2 separate regions of the Homo sapiens genome follow, and region 1 is linked to region 2. Evidence: promoter capture Hi-C in human tissues and cell types (Jung and others, 2019). All regions are on one chromosome and are shown on one strand. Each heading gives the region's core, a stretch centred on a gene start or on the middle of the fragment in contact. The rest is flanking DNA. Distances are from core to core; before and after follow the strand shown. Region 1 overlaps RBFOX2 (RNA binding fox-1 homolog 2). Region 2 holds the start of RBFOX2 (RNA binding fox-1 homolog 2).

Region 1 (5,264 bases), core at 929-3,428, 270 kb after region 2:
AGATGTCCAAAGATCTTGCAAATGTATTTTCTTTGGAGTACTGATATTTGGAAACCAAGAAACTCACTTTACTCTTGTTATCCTCATTTGATAAGAACTTTAATTAAAATACTATATATTAATATTTTATATTGCTGTGTTAATTATTTAAATCACTGCTCTCAGAAATTTACATTTTAAACTAAATACTCTGTTATTGGATGTGCAACTTTATGTTCCCTAATGTGGTCCACTTCTTCCCTGCCCTTTTTTCTCCTTGTTATTTTTAGGTGAATAATGCTACAGCACGTGTAATGACCAATAAGAAGATGGTCACACCATATGCAAATGGTAAGAAATTATAATCTTCGAAAGAGTGTTTATTCTTGTGTAAATATATGAAGTTTTTATAAACTTCTAAGAATGTCTTTATTTCCGTCTTAAGACAGTTTGATTTGTGTTGAAGTAGTCTCTTTACCTGGGAGAGTATTTTATTTTTACAGAATAACTTTGTCATTACAATTGAGCTAAGTTTTTAGTTATTAAGGTGTTATGTTCTAAGTAATGTTCATCTTTTACACAGTGCAAACATGCTATCTAGTTGCCTATTAACCCAAATTGGATCCCACCTGAGCACCTTCTTTTTCAGCTGCTGTAGCTCTTTCTAATATGTTAGACTTGTCCGTAATACCCCTGGATGCCCACTGACTCTTACTTTTAGTTCTGACTTTCATTCATCTGAGCATAAGTGGAATAAATTAGGAGGATATTTTAATCACTTTTATAATTCTGGACCTGTTGCTCTCCTTAGCCCTAGAGATAACAGCCATGGGTATGGTTGTGTGTGTATCATTTTCTGTTTCATGATTACATATTATATAGTAAGGTTTATAAGTTTTTCTCATTGAGAAGGAAATTTTCTATGAATAATTTGTTACATCAGTTACCAAATTTAATCTAGACTCATGGTCTCTGAATGAGATGGAATATAAATTTAATCTGTAGCCCAGTGGTGGTTTTGCAGACTGTTCTGCAGAGCCAGTTTGGGAGAGAAAAAGGAAACCAAATGGATTGAATTCTGAGGTCTCAGCTGTACTTTAGTCTGAGCAATTAGGGTTCTGCATAAGCTTTTACTAATATCTAGAATAAAGGGGGGAGTTTCTGCTGGAGTTTTTTTTTTTTTTTTTTTGAGACGGAGTCTCGCTTTGTCACCCAGGCTGGAGTGCACTGGCGCAATCAAGGCTCACTGCAAGCTCTGCTTCCCAGGTTCACGCCATTCTCCTGCCCTCAGCCTCCCGAGTAGCTGGGACTACAGGCGCCCGCCACCACACCTGGCTAATTTTTTGTATTTTTAGTAGAGATGGGGTTTCACCGTGTTAGCCAGGATGGTCTCAACCTCCTGACCTCGTGATCCGCCCACCGTGGCCTCCCAAAGTGCTGGGATTACAGGCGTGAGCCACCATGCCTGGCTCTGCTGTTTTTTTAAAAAGTTTGAACCCACTGCTAGAGTATGGCTGTATGTGCTAATAATGTCTTAAATCAAGGAGAAATGTATCCGTATTGACTATATCCCATAAAGTCTTCAATAAATATATTTAGCCCAGCTTTTCACATAGATGATACAAATTTATCAGCATAATTTGCATTTTTCCTTACTCCTTTTATCGGTATGATACCACTGCCTCCCACTTTACCTCTTATTTTCTTTTCACTGCTCTTACAAAAACAAGTCTCTACAATTTTGATAAAAACTCAAAGTAAACAAAATAGAAAGGAGAGGCAAAGAATGTCAAATTTTCTTTACATCTAAGGGAAATATTGTGACAGAAAGAGCCTCTGACTGGAATTCAGAAAACAGACGTTCTCCTTCTAGGTTTGACTCTTTATTTACTCCGTGACAGTGGACCAGTTTTTTAACCTAATTCTGTTTTCATATTTATAAATTGAGACCACAGATTTTTGGCACCAGGATTTTTTAAGAAATTATTGAAACTCAACCCTCCCAGCTTATTATTAGGAAATGAGACCCAGAAAAGTATAGTATTGACCTCAGATTGCAGATGTGGTATCTATTTTACCTTCCTCTTTGGGTTTTGTGAAGGTCAAAGGGCATCTGTGAAAATACATTGTAAATTTTCTAAAACTAAATATATTCAAAGTATTACTAACAACATGTCAATATACATCCATTATATTGATTTTTGTTTTTGTTTTGAGGCAGAGTCTCTCTGTCACCTAGGCTGGAGTACAGTGGTGCGATCTCAGCTCACTGCAACCTCCACTTCCCGGGTTCAAGCGATACTCGTGCCTCAGCCTCCAGAGTAGCTGGGATTACAGGTGTGTGCCACCACATCCGGCTAATTTTTGTATTTTTAGTAGAGACGAGGTTTTGCCATGTTGGCCAGGCTGGTCTCGAGCTCCTAGACTCAGGTGATCCCTCCGCCTCAGCCTCCCAAAGTGCTGGGATTACAGGCTTGAGCTACGGTGCCTGCCCATTATGTGGATTTAAAGGGAATGCTCAGGCAATAGTGGCATTGGTAGGAAAGAAAAAGGTTATTTTTTAAAATATTATTCTAAATTAATATTCAGGTTTAGTAGGCAAGAAACCTTCTGCTATTGTGTTAAAGGTCCTAAGAAGAATTTGTTGGGTTCCTCCTAATGAATTCTCAGTCAGCATTCTCATTTAGGTTGGTTGGAATCTCTTAATTTGTGCAGAAATGTTGCACAGTATTTGTGTAATTTGATGTTGCAGAATATTTGTGTTCTTACAATTCAAGTAGGATTTGAACCTAGATTTTGCCAGAATTTTATGTGGAATATTGAAGAGACATTGCATTTTATGAGCACATAAAATGATGAATAAGAGATTGGATTGAATCAGAGTGAATAGGTTTTCACTTGAATAATGTCTTGCTTACAGTCATTTAAATCTGGTAATTTCAATAATTCTTTTGAAAAGGCCAATTGTGGCTGGACGCAGTGGCTCAAGCCTGTAATCCCCAGCACTCTGGGAGGCTGAGGCGGGTGGATCACCTGAGGTTAGGAGTTCAAGACCAGCCTGGCCAACATGGTGAAACCCCATCTCTACTAAAAGTATAAAACTAGCCAGGCATGGTGGCACGTGCCTGTAGTCCCAGCTACTTGGGAGGCTGAGGCATGAGAATCACTTGAACCCAGGAGCCGAGGTTGTGGTGAGCCGAAACTGCGCCACTGCACTCCAGCCTGGGTGACAGAGCAAGACTCTGTCTCAAAAAAAAAAAAAAAAAAAAAGAGGAGGCCAATTCTGGCCTTTTTCTTTTCATTCGTATATTTATAGAATAGTGTGGCACAATGCTAGGGTCTTAATATAAAAAGACAAATGAGTCAGAAAATATATAATATAGAGTATTTTTGCTTATATGTAAAATTCAGTTAATATTGATTAAAGTTTTCATGTGGAATTCTACTTTTATTCACTCGCAGTGAGCAATCGTATATTATTCCTTTTTAAAAAATACTTGCCATATTCCTATAAATATAAAAAAGGGAAAGAAGAAATAAAGTTGACATTAAACATAATGTTATTTGGAAACTCTTAATATTTATAAATATTTAAGCTAATGTTCCACAGTATTCTGGTGTTCTTTAGCTAAGAAGTCTGATTAACTTAAAGGTGATTATTACACATTAAAGCCTCAGAAAACATGCACTGAAGTTGGGAATGTACCTTGAATTTTACTATTTCATGTCTTTCCTTTTTTAGTTGGTGAACCCCAGTAAAATCCCAATGGTAAATCCGAGTAAAAGTGGATTTCAGTTTACCTGGAATACCAGCATTGTATAGCCAAACATGGAGTCAAAGATCTAGGTTGAATTTGAGTTCAGCCCATGGATACCTTTATTAAAACAACTAGAGTAATAAACAGGGTTGAGAAAATGCATCACAGCATGGTTCAGAGTGACATATAGTCGGCCTTCTTTTTTTAAATGAAGGATAGGTCATCCAGGGTAATTCTGTGAGAACACTTTACCAAACTCTAGGATTTATTTCTATTTATTTTTTCTCCTCTCATTCCCTCTCCATCTTCCTCCTCCCAACATCATGACACCTGCCAAGCCCCCCAGCCCCAGCCCCTCATTATCTCTTCACTGTGTCCTAGTTCTACTACTGTTACTCTCTCATATAAACCCCAAGCTGGAATTCCAAAGAGAAGTTGATAATAGGCAAAAATAGCCCCAGAGATGGCTGAAGCCAACTTGACATGCACTGATCATCCCTTTCCTCAAACAGTCTTAAATGCTTACCTTCCATTTTGTGTGTTTCAGGTTGGAAATTAAGCCCAGTAGTTGGAGCTGTATATGGTCCGGAGTTATATGCAGGTAGTATTTAAGTAAATGTTTCCACTTGTGCTATTTAATTGTAATAGCATCTGCTGTTTTTCAATTTGTGACTCCTTTTTAATCTTCTTGCATTTTTAAATTTTTTAAAAATCCAATCAGCATCCAGCTTTCAAGCAGATGTGTCCCTAGGCAATGATGCAGCAGTGCCCCTATCAGGAAGAGGGGGTATCAACACTTACATTCCTTTAATCAGTAAGTAGCCTATGTTGGCCTGGCATGGATTTTGACTGTTGTGAGTGAACTATCATGTACTGTTTTTTTTTTTCCTAGTACAGTACATAACTGAAATGGAAATTTCTTGAGAGGGATATTAAATACTATCCCAGTGCCCTGTCCTGCTTAACCTGTGCTAGAATTTTCCTGACCAAATATTAAGATTGCACAAAGCAGAAATAGTTGGAAAAGGTAGAGGGGGTAAGGGCATATGAAGAATATTTTAGTCTGTACTTGACGATAAAGAAAACAAAAGAAGCAAGTATGTGTAGAGCATATTATACATTTCCTCTGCGAGTCAGCCACAGGTTCTCCAGCAGAGGATCACTTAGAAGTACTTCCAGTATTATTGATTATTCCCAGCTCTCTTGATCTCTCTAAGTCATTTTGACCTGAGCCATTTTACTCCAGCAAGAGGTATAATTAAACAGGATTCAGTGGACATGGAATCAATGTCTCTGCATGCTTTCCAGAGGACAGCACACTTAAAATAGGCTCTTAGAAATTGTCTGCCTCTTTAAAGGATATGAGGCCCCTAGAAATTGTCTGCCTCTTTAAAGGACAGGGTAGGAGTTGTTTCCCTCACCTTACATTTGTGGATTAAAATGTTTTAAATAAAAGAATGAAATTGACTAATGAAATGAAATGTCTAAAGACTATTATGTGCCTTAGAGGTTGGTACCATGTAAAAA
Region 2 (5,514 bases), core at 52-2,551:
CCGAGATCGCGCCACTGCACTTAAGCCTGGGCGACAGAGCGAGACTCTGTCTCAAAAAAAAAAAAAAAAAAAAAAAAAAAAATGCCTTCAGTCACTGACAAATGTGGGAGTGGAGGTGGTGGAATGGCAAAATTTCTCCTTGGTTGAAAGCCACTGATCCAAACCATCTCATTTTACAAATGATGGAGCTGAGGTCCAAAGAGATGAAGTAACTTGTTTAAGCTAGTTAGCAAAGCCAAGATTAGAATCCAGGTTATTCACGCAATATCCTTTTATTTCTATAACGTACAGGGCACGATATGGAACTCAGAGGAAGTCACTGCAGTCCTTGTCCTCACAGTCTGGTAGGGGAGAGAATCTATTGCACAGATATCTCTATCTCCACGAAGTTGGTAAGTCATAAAGTGCTCCTCAGGCAGCAAGGTACGAAGAAAGAGAATATGTTCTCGTGTTCTGAATTCCGGATCTGCCACTTTTTTGCTGCAGGATTTAACTAAGGTTCAGTTTCATCATCAATGAAATGGAGATCATGGTATCTACTTATATCACCAGTTTGAAACGGGTCTGTGGATGCATTGTGCAAACTCTAAAGCTCTTACAAACATCGGGTATTATTACTAACTTCATTAGGAATGTGAGTTATATTAGAGTAAAAGCTCTCAGAACTGGGGTGAACCATAGAGGGGTGGCTTCATTCCTCGACCTTCCAATTTGAGACATTTTTTCTTCTGCGGGAGGGGAAGCAGGCAAATAGCCTGCCTCTCACAGAGTGCCCATTCCCTCTCCGGGAACCAAGGTGCTCAGGCGAGTAAACTCAGGACTTAACTCTGTACAACTAGTACCGCAAGCAGGAGCCACTCCCTGGCCTTCGGGTCTCTCAAGCCCCGCCTGCTCCAGGATACGGCCCCGCCCAGAAAGGAGACAGACCCCGCCCCCCCCGCGCTGCCCCGCACTCCAGCCGCGCTGTGCCTCCAGGACAATCCCAGGCCCGTGCCGGAGATTCCCGAGCTTCCCCGATCGCTTCCCGGCCTCCCTCGGGCAGCCAGCGAGGAGACTACGGAGATTGCCGAGGGGGCCTGGCCCCGCCCCCCCCGCGGGCCGCCACCGCCCCCCTCGCCGTAGCCTCCCGCGCGGGCTGGAGTTCTACATCCCGGTCCCTCCCTCCCTCCCTCTTTCTCTCTCCCCGCCTTCCCGGTGCTGCCACAGTGGCGGGTCGGAGGATCCCGGCCAGTCAGCTCGTTCCTGCCTCGCGCCCCTCCTCCCCCCAAAATAAACAGCCCTCCCCACGCCTCGGGAGCCCGGACCGCCCCCTTCCTCCCTCGGCCGGCGTGCTGTGAGGGAGAGTGTGAGCCAGCGCGGCCGGTGGGCGAGCTCCGGGAGTGCGAGAGGCGGGGCGGCGCGGCGGGCCGGGCCGGGTTTCGCGTGTGCGTGCGGGGGCGCGAGCGAGTGCTCATCACGACCCGCCAGTGGCCCCGCGCCGACAACCCGGCGGGCGGGCGGGCGGGGAGCAAGCGGTCAGGCAAGGAGCGGCGGCCGCGAGGCGCGGAGGGGCGCGGAGTCCGCTCGCGCGCACGCACGCACGCACGCGGGGGCGGGGGCAGGCGCGCGCCCGCCTGTCGCGACAGTCGGGGCCGAGGCCCAGGGGGAGGTGGCCTGTCGCGGGTCGCCCGGCTCCCGGAGGCGAGGGGGGCGCGGGCGGATGGCGGAGGGCGCCCAGCCGCATCAGCCGCCTCAGCTCGGGCCCGGCGCCGCCGCCCGGGGCATGAAGCGGGAGTCGGAGCTGGAGCTGCCGGTGCCCGGAGCGGGAGGAGACGGAGCCGATCCCGGCCTGAGCAAGCGGCCGCGCACTGAGGAGGCGGCGGCCGACGGTGGCGGCGGGATGCAGGTGACCGCGCGGGACGGGGCGCCCAGTTATTGCGGGGGTGGGCGTGAGGGTCGACACCGGGCTCCCCGGCTTGGAGAGAGGGAGGGCCTCCGGGAGTCCTGGGTTGGAGGTGGGATGGGGGGCCATTCGGGGCCTGGTTGGAAGGTGGGGCGAGCTCGGGCTAGGAACGAAGGTTGCAGGACTGAACCTGGTGTGCCCGAGAGGGTCCTGATTCCTGAGGGGCCAGGAGGCACGACGAGTGGATAGGTTTTGGGGGGAAATCGAACAAGGTTGAGATGGATTCCATTTTTTCAAATCCTTCCTTAGTGCCTTGGGGTGGAGTGGAAGCCGGGAAATCCTGGCTTCTCTGGACTGAGTCGAGGAAAAGGAGATCTGGTGGGAAACCTCCCGAGAAGAGGGAGTACCTTTTGGCAGCCCTGGGCACACGCTGGGATGGGGAAGAGAAGTGGCATTTCAATGAGAGGAGTGAAAAGAAAACTCCTCGAGAGAGCCCCGAGGGGATGTGGCTGAGATTGTGGGTTAAATCACACAGAGTGTGAGAAGTACAAGGAGTTTGGTAATGTTATGGGGACACGGTGGTGCTCAGTCTCATTTACTTTGTGGAGCATACTAATGAGTCTGAAGGGAGACACTAGACATGTCCCTCCTGTTCTTTGCCAATTGCATTCTACATCACCAGGACACAAAATAGCTCTTTAATGTCCCGGGCTATAAAAAAAATTTTTTTATAGGGCTATTAGAAGACTGGATTCTCAATTCTGGATTGAAAGATAAACGTGGTTAATTTGGGTAGGGAATGGGAAAGGTATTGATGTCAGCTGACTTCATAGTTTTGAAGAAGACCTTGAAACCTTTGGAGGTTTTACGATTTGGTCTTTGCCCAGAAAATACTGCTATGACATGATGAGTCTCACCTACCAACAGTTGTGCAGACTTGTGCCTAATTCTCTCGGAGTCATAGGATGTTAGAGGGATGCTAGGAGGACTAGACATCATCTTTTCCAGGGGTTCTTAACCTGGGAAGACTTGGAAGATTCTTACTCATAGTAGGTGATGTGCACTTTTTGGTGGAGGAGAGTCAATAGTTTTCATCTTTGTTTTTTTTGGAGGAGATTCAAGTCCCAGCTTGTTTTAACCACCTTATTTTATAGATGGGGAATCAGAAGTCCAGAGAAGATGGTGACTTGGGTAAGGCCACCCAGTTAGCTAATAGTAAAACTAGAACTAGAAGCCTGGTCTTCTAATTCCTATTCCTGTGCTGTCTCCATTACACCACTCTTGGAAATCTCTGCAGTGCTAAAAGACTTCCTGTGCTCTGCTCCCTGCTTTTCAAGCCTCTGCCTGACTTCCTGTGTTAGGGACAGAGCTGTACTTAAGCCTAGCATGTTTGTTGTATGCTTCTTGGTCTCCTTTGCAGAGTTTACCCTGTTACTTCTGTTGATTTAGGTAAAGTGACCCTCTTGGTGTTTATTTTTGAATTCTTTTGTTTTGTTTGCCTGCTTTTATTTTCCATTAGAACTCTGTCAGGCAGAGGGATTGTGAGAAGTAAAAGCTCAGGGCCATGGCAAAAAAGACAGGAATGTGGGAGACTTCAGGTGAGGTGAGCTAATATTGGATGATAAGGAGGGAAGACTGGATGTAGGTGCTGGTGAGCAGGTTCTACTTGGTGTGTGTGTGTGTGTGTGTGTGTGTGTGTGTATGTATTCATTTATCATTTCTGTCAATCCTAGTTAATAGTGAGACCCCCGTCCCTTTCCCTCATTTACTCCTGGGGCCTATTATCTGTTGGTTGCCTTCAAACTGGCTAAAGATAGTGATATTTGGAAATGGAGCAGTGTGTAGGGACTTCGCAGGGGTGTGCAGAGGAAAGAGTGGTTAGGTCCTTGGGGGTACAAATTGGCAGCTGAGAGTTATCCCTCCGAGAATCCTTTTTTCACTTCTTGTATTTTATTTTCTTTCTATACATTCTCTTTTTTTTTTTTTTGCCCAGGCTGGAGTGCAATGGCACGATCTCGGCTCACTGCAACCTCCACCTCCACCTCCACCTCTGGGTTCAAGGGATTCTCCTGCCTCAGCTTCCTGAGTAGATGGGATTACAGGCGTCTGCCACCATGCCCAGCTAATTTTTCTTATTTTTAGTAGAGAGGGGGTTTCACCAGGTTGGCCAGGCTGGTCTCGAACTCCTGACCTCAGGTGATTCACCCACCTCAGCCTCCCAAAATGTTGGGATTACAGGTGTGAGCCACCACACCCGGCCTTCTATACATTCCCATTGTTGTAGGTCCATTCCCCTATGTCATACAGGTATTCAAATCATTGATTTAGGCCCTGCCTTCAACTAGCTGAATGGTTCTGCAGAAATCTTTCATTTTGGGGCCTCTGTTTTCCTTAGTTGTAAAATAAAGTATGTGTACAAGATGATTTCCCTTGTAATCCACCCACCTCGGCCTCCCAAAGTGCTGGGATTACAGGTGTGAGGCACCGCACCCGGCCAAGTTCTAAGTTACCTTCTAAAAGTTATAAGTCCAGTTCACTGTCCTTAAGGTGCATGCAATCTATGTGGGGAGACAAATGGGCGAAAAGTTTTTTTTAAAGAAGCGTGCATTTTTAAAGAAGTGTGAGAGTATTACATGAATATACTTAATGTTTATTCATTGAACTAACATTTATTAAGCAGCTGCTACATCCCAGGCACTGTTTTAACCCTAAGAGATATAATAGTGAACAACAACAACAAAAAACCCTTGCTGTCATGGAACTAATATTGAATGGAAAGAGACATCTAATAAATCAACAACTATAATTGTGTGGTGATAAGGGCTAAAAAGAAAAAGCAGGGAAAGGGAGAGATGGAAAGGGAGAGAATGAAGATGGTTACGGAAGGGCTTTAAGATAGATGGCCTATGAGTGAAGTGAGGTAATGGGCCATTCAGATGCTTTCGGAAAGAGGGTTCAGGTAGAGGAGGTGAGGGTGCACAGGCATTGAGAAAGACTGCTTGGTTTGTTTGGAAACAGGAGACCAATGTATTAATAGCTGGAGCAGAGAGAGCAAGGGCAGGTAGTCTTAGGAGATGGTATCAGTGGTTTAGAAATATCTATAGGCCCTATGTAAATACACACTTTAAAAATCTTAGCCGGGCGCAGTGGCTCACGCCTGTAATCCCAGCACTTTGGGAGACTGAGGCGGGTGGATCGCCTGAGATCAGGAGTTCGAGACCAGCCTGGCCAACATAGTGAAACCCGTCTCTACTAAAAATACAAAAAATTAGCCAGGCGTGGTGGCAGGCGCCTGTAATCCCAGCTACTAGGGAGGCTGAGGCAGGAGAATCACTTGAACTCGGGAGGCGGAGGTTGCAGTTAGCTGAGGTTGCGCCATTGCACTCCAGGCTGGGCAACAAGAGCGAAAATCTGTCTCAAAAAAATAAAAAAAATCTTATCGTAGCCAGTGTTTTGGGTATGTGGGTTTGTCTTAAAGTACACGTCTTTTTTTTCTTTTTTTTTGAGATGGAGTCTCACTGTTGCCCAGGCTGGAGTGCAGTGGCTTGATCTCAGCTCACTGCAACCTCTGCCTCCTGGGTTCAAGCAATTCTTATGCCTCAGCCTCCTGAGTAGCTGGGATTACAGGCATG

Evidence for each region. Contacts are between HindIII fragments. The study calls those that stand out against the background at their distance.
Region 1: a fragment that was not itself captured here is called in contact with the fragment with the promoter of RBFOX2 in region 2 in 1 of the 25 tissues and cell types used here (dorsolateral prefrontal cortex).

What each region holds. Positions count from the first base shown.
Region 1 is chr22:35,760,489-35,765,752 of GRCh38, reverse strand. RBFOX2 (RNA binding fox-1 homolog 2) reads left to right here. Exons shown (of 14, transcript NM_001349999.2): 7 at 270-330; 8 at 4,285-4,338; 9 at 4,459-4,551. Among named protein-coding and RNA genes, the nearest start is that of APOL5, 45 kb to the right of the region's middle. The HindIII fragment of the contact is 3,561 bases long and covers 398-3,958 here.
Region 2 is chr22:36,024,611-36,030,124 of GRCh38, reverse strand. RBFOX2 (RNA binding fox-1 homolog 2) reads left to right here and starts at 1,301. Exons shown (of 14, transcript NM_001349999.2): 1 at 1,301-1,885. The coding sequence starts at 1,700. RefSeq lists a silencer at 1,066-1,135. The HindIII fragment of the contact is 7,839 bases long and covers 1-5,514 here.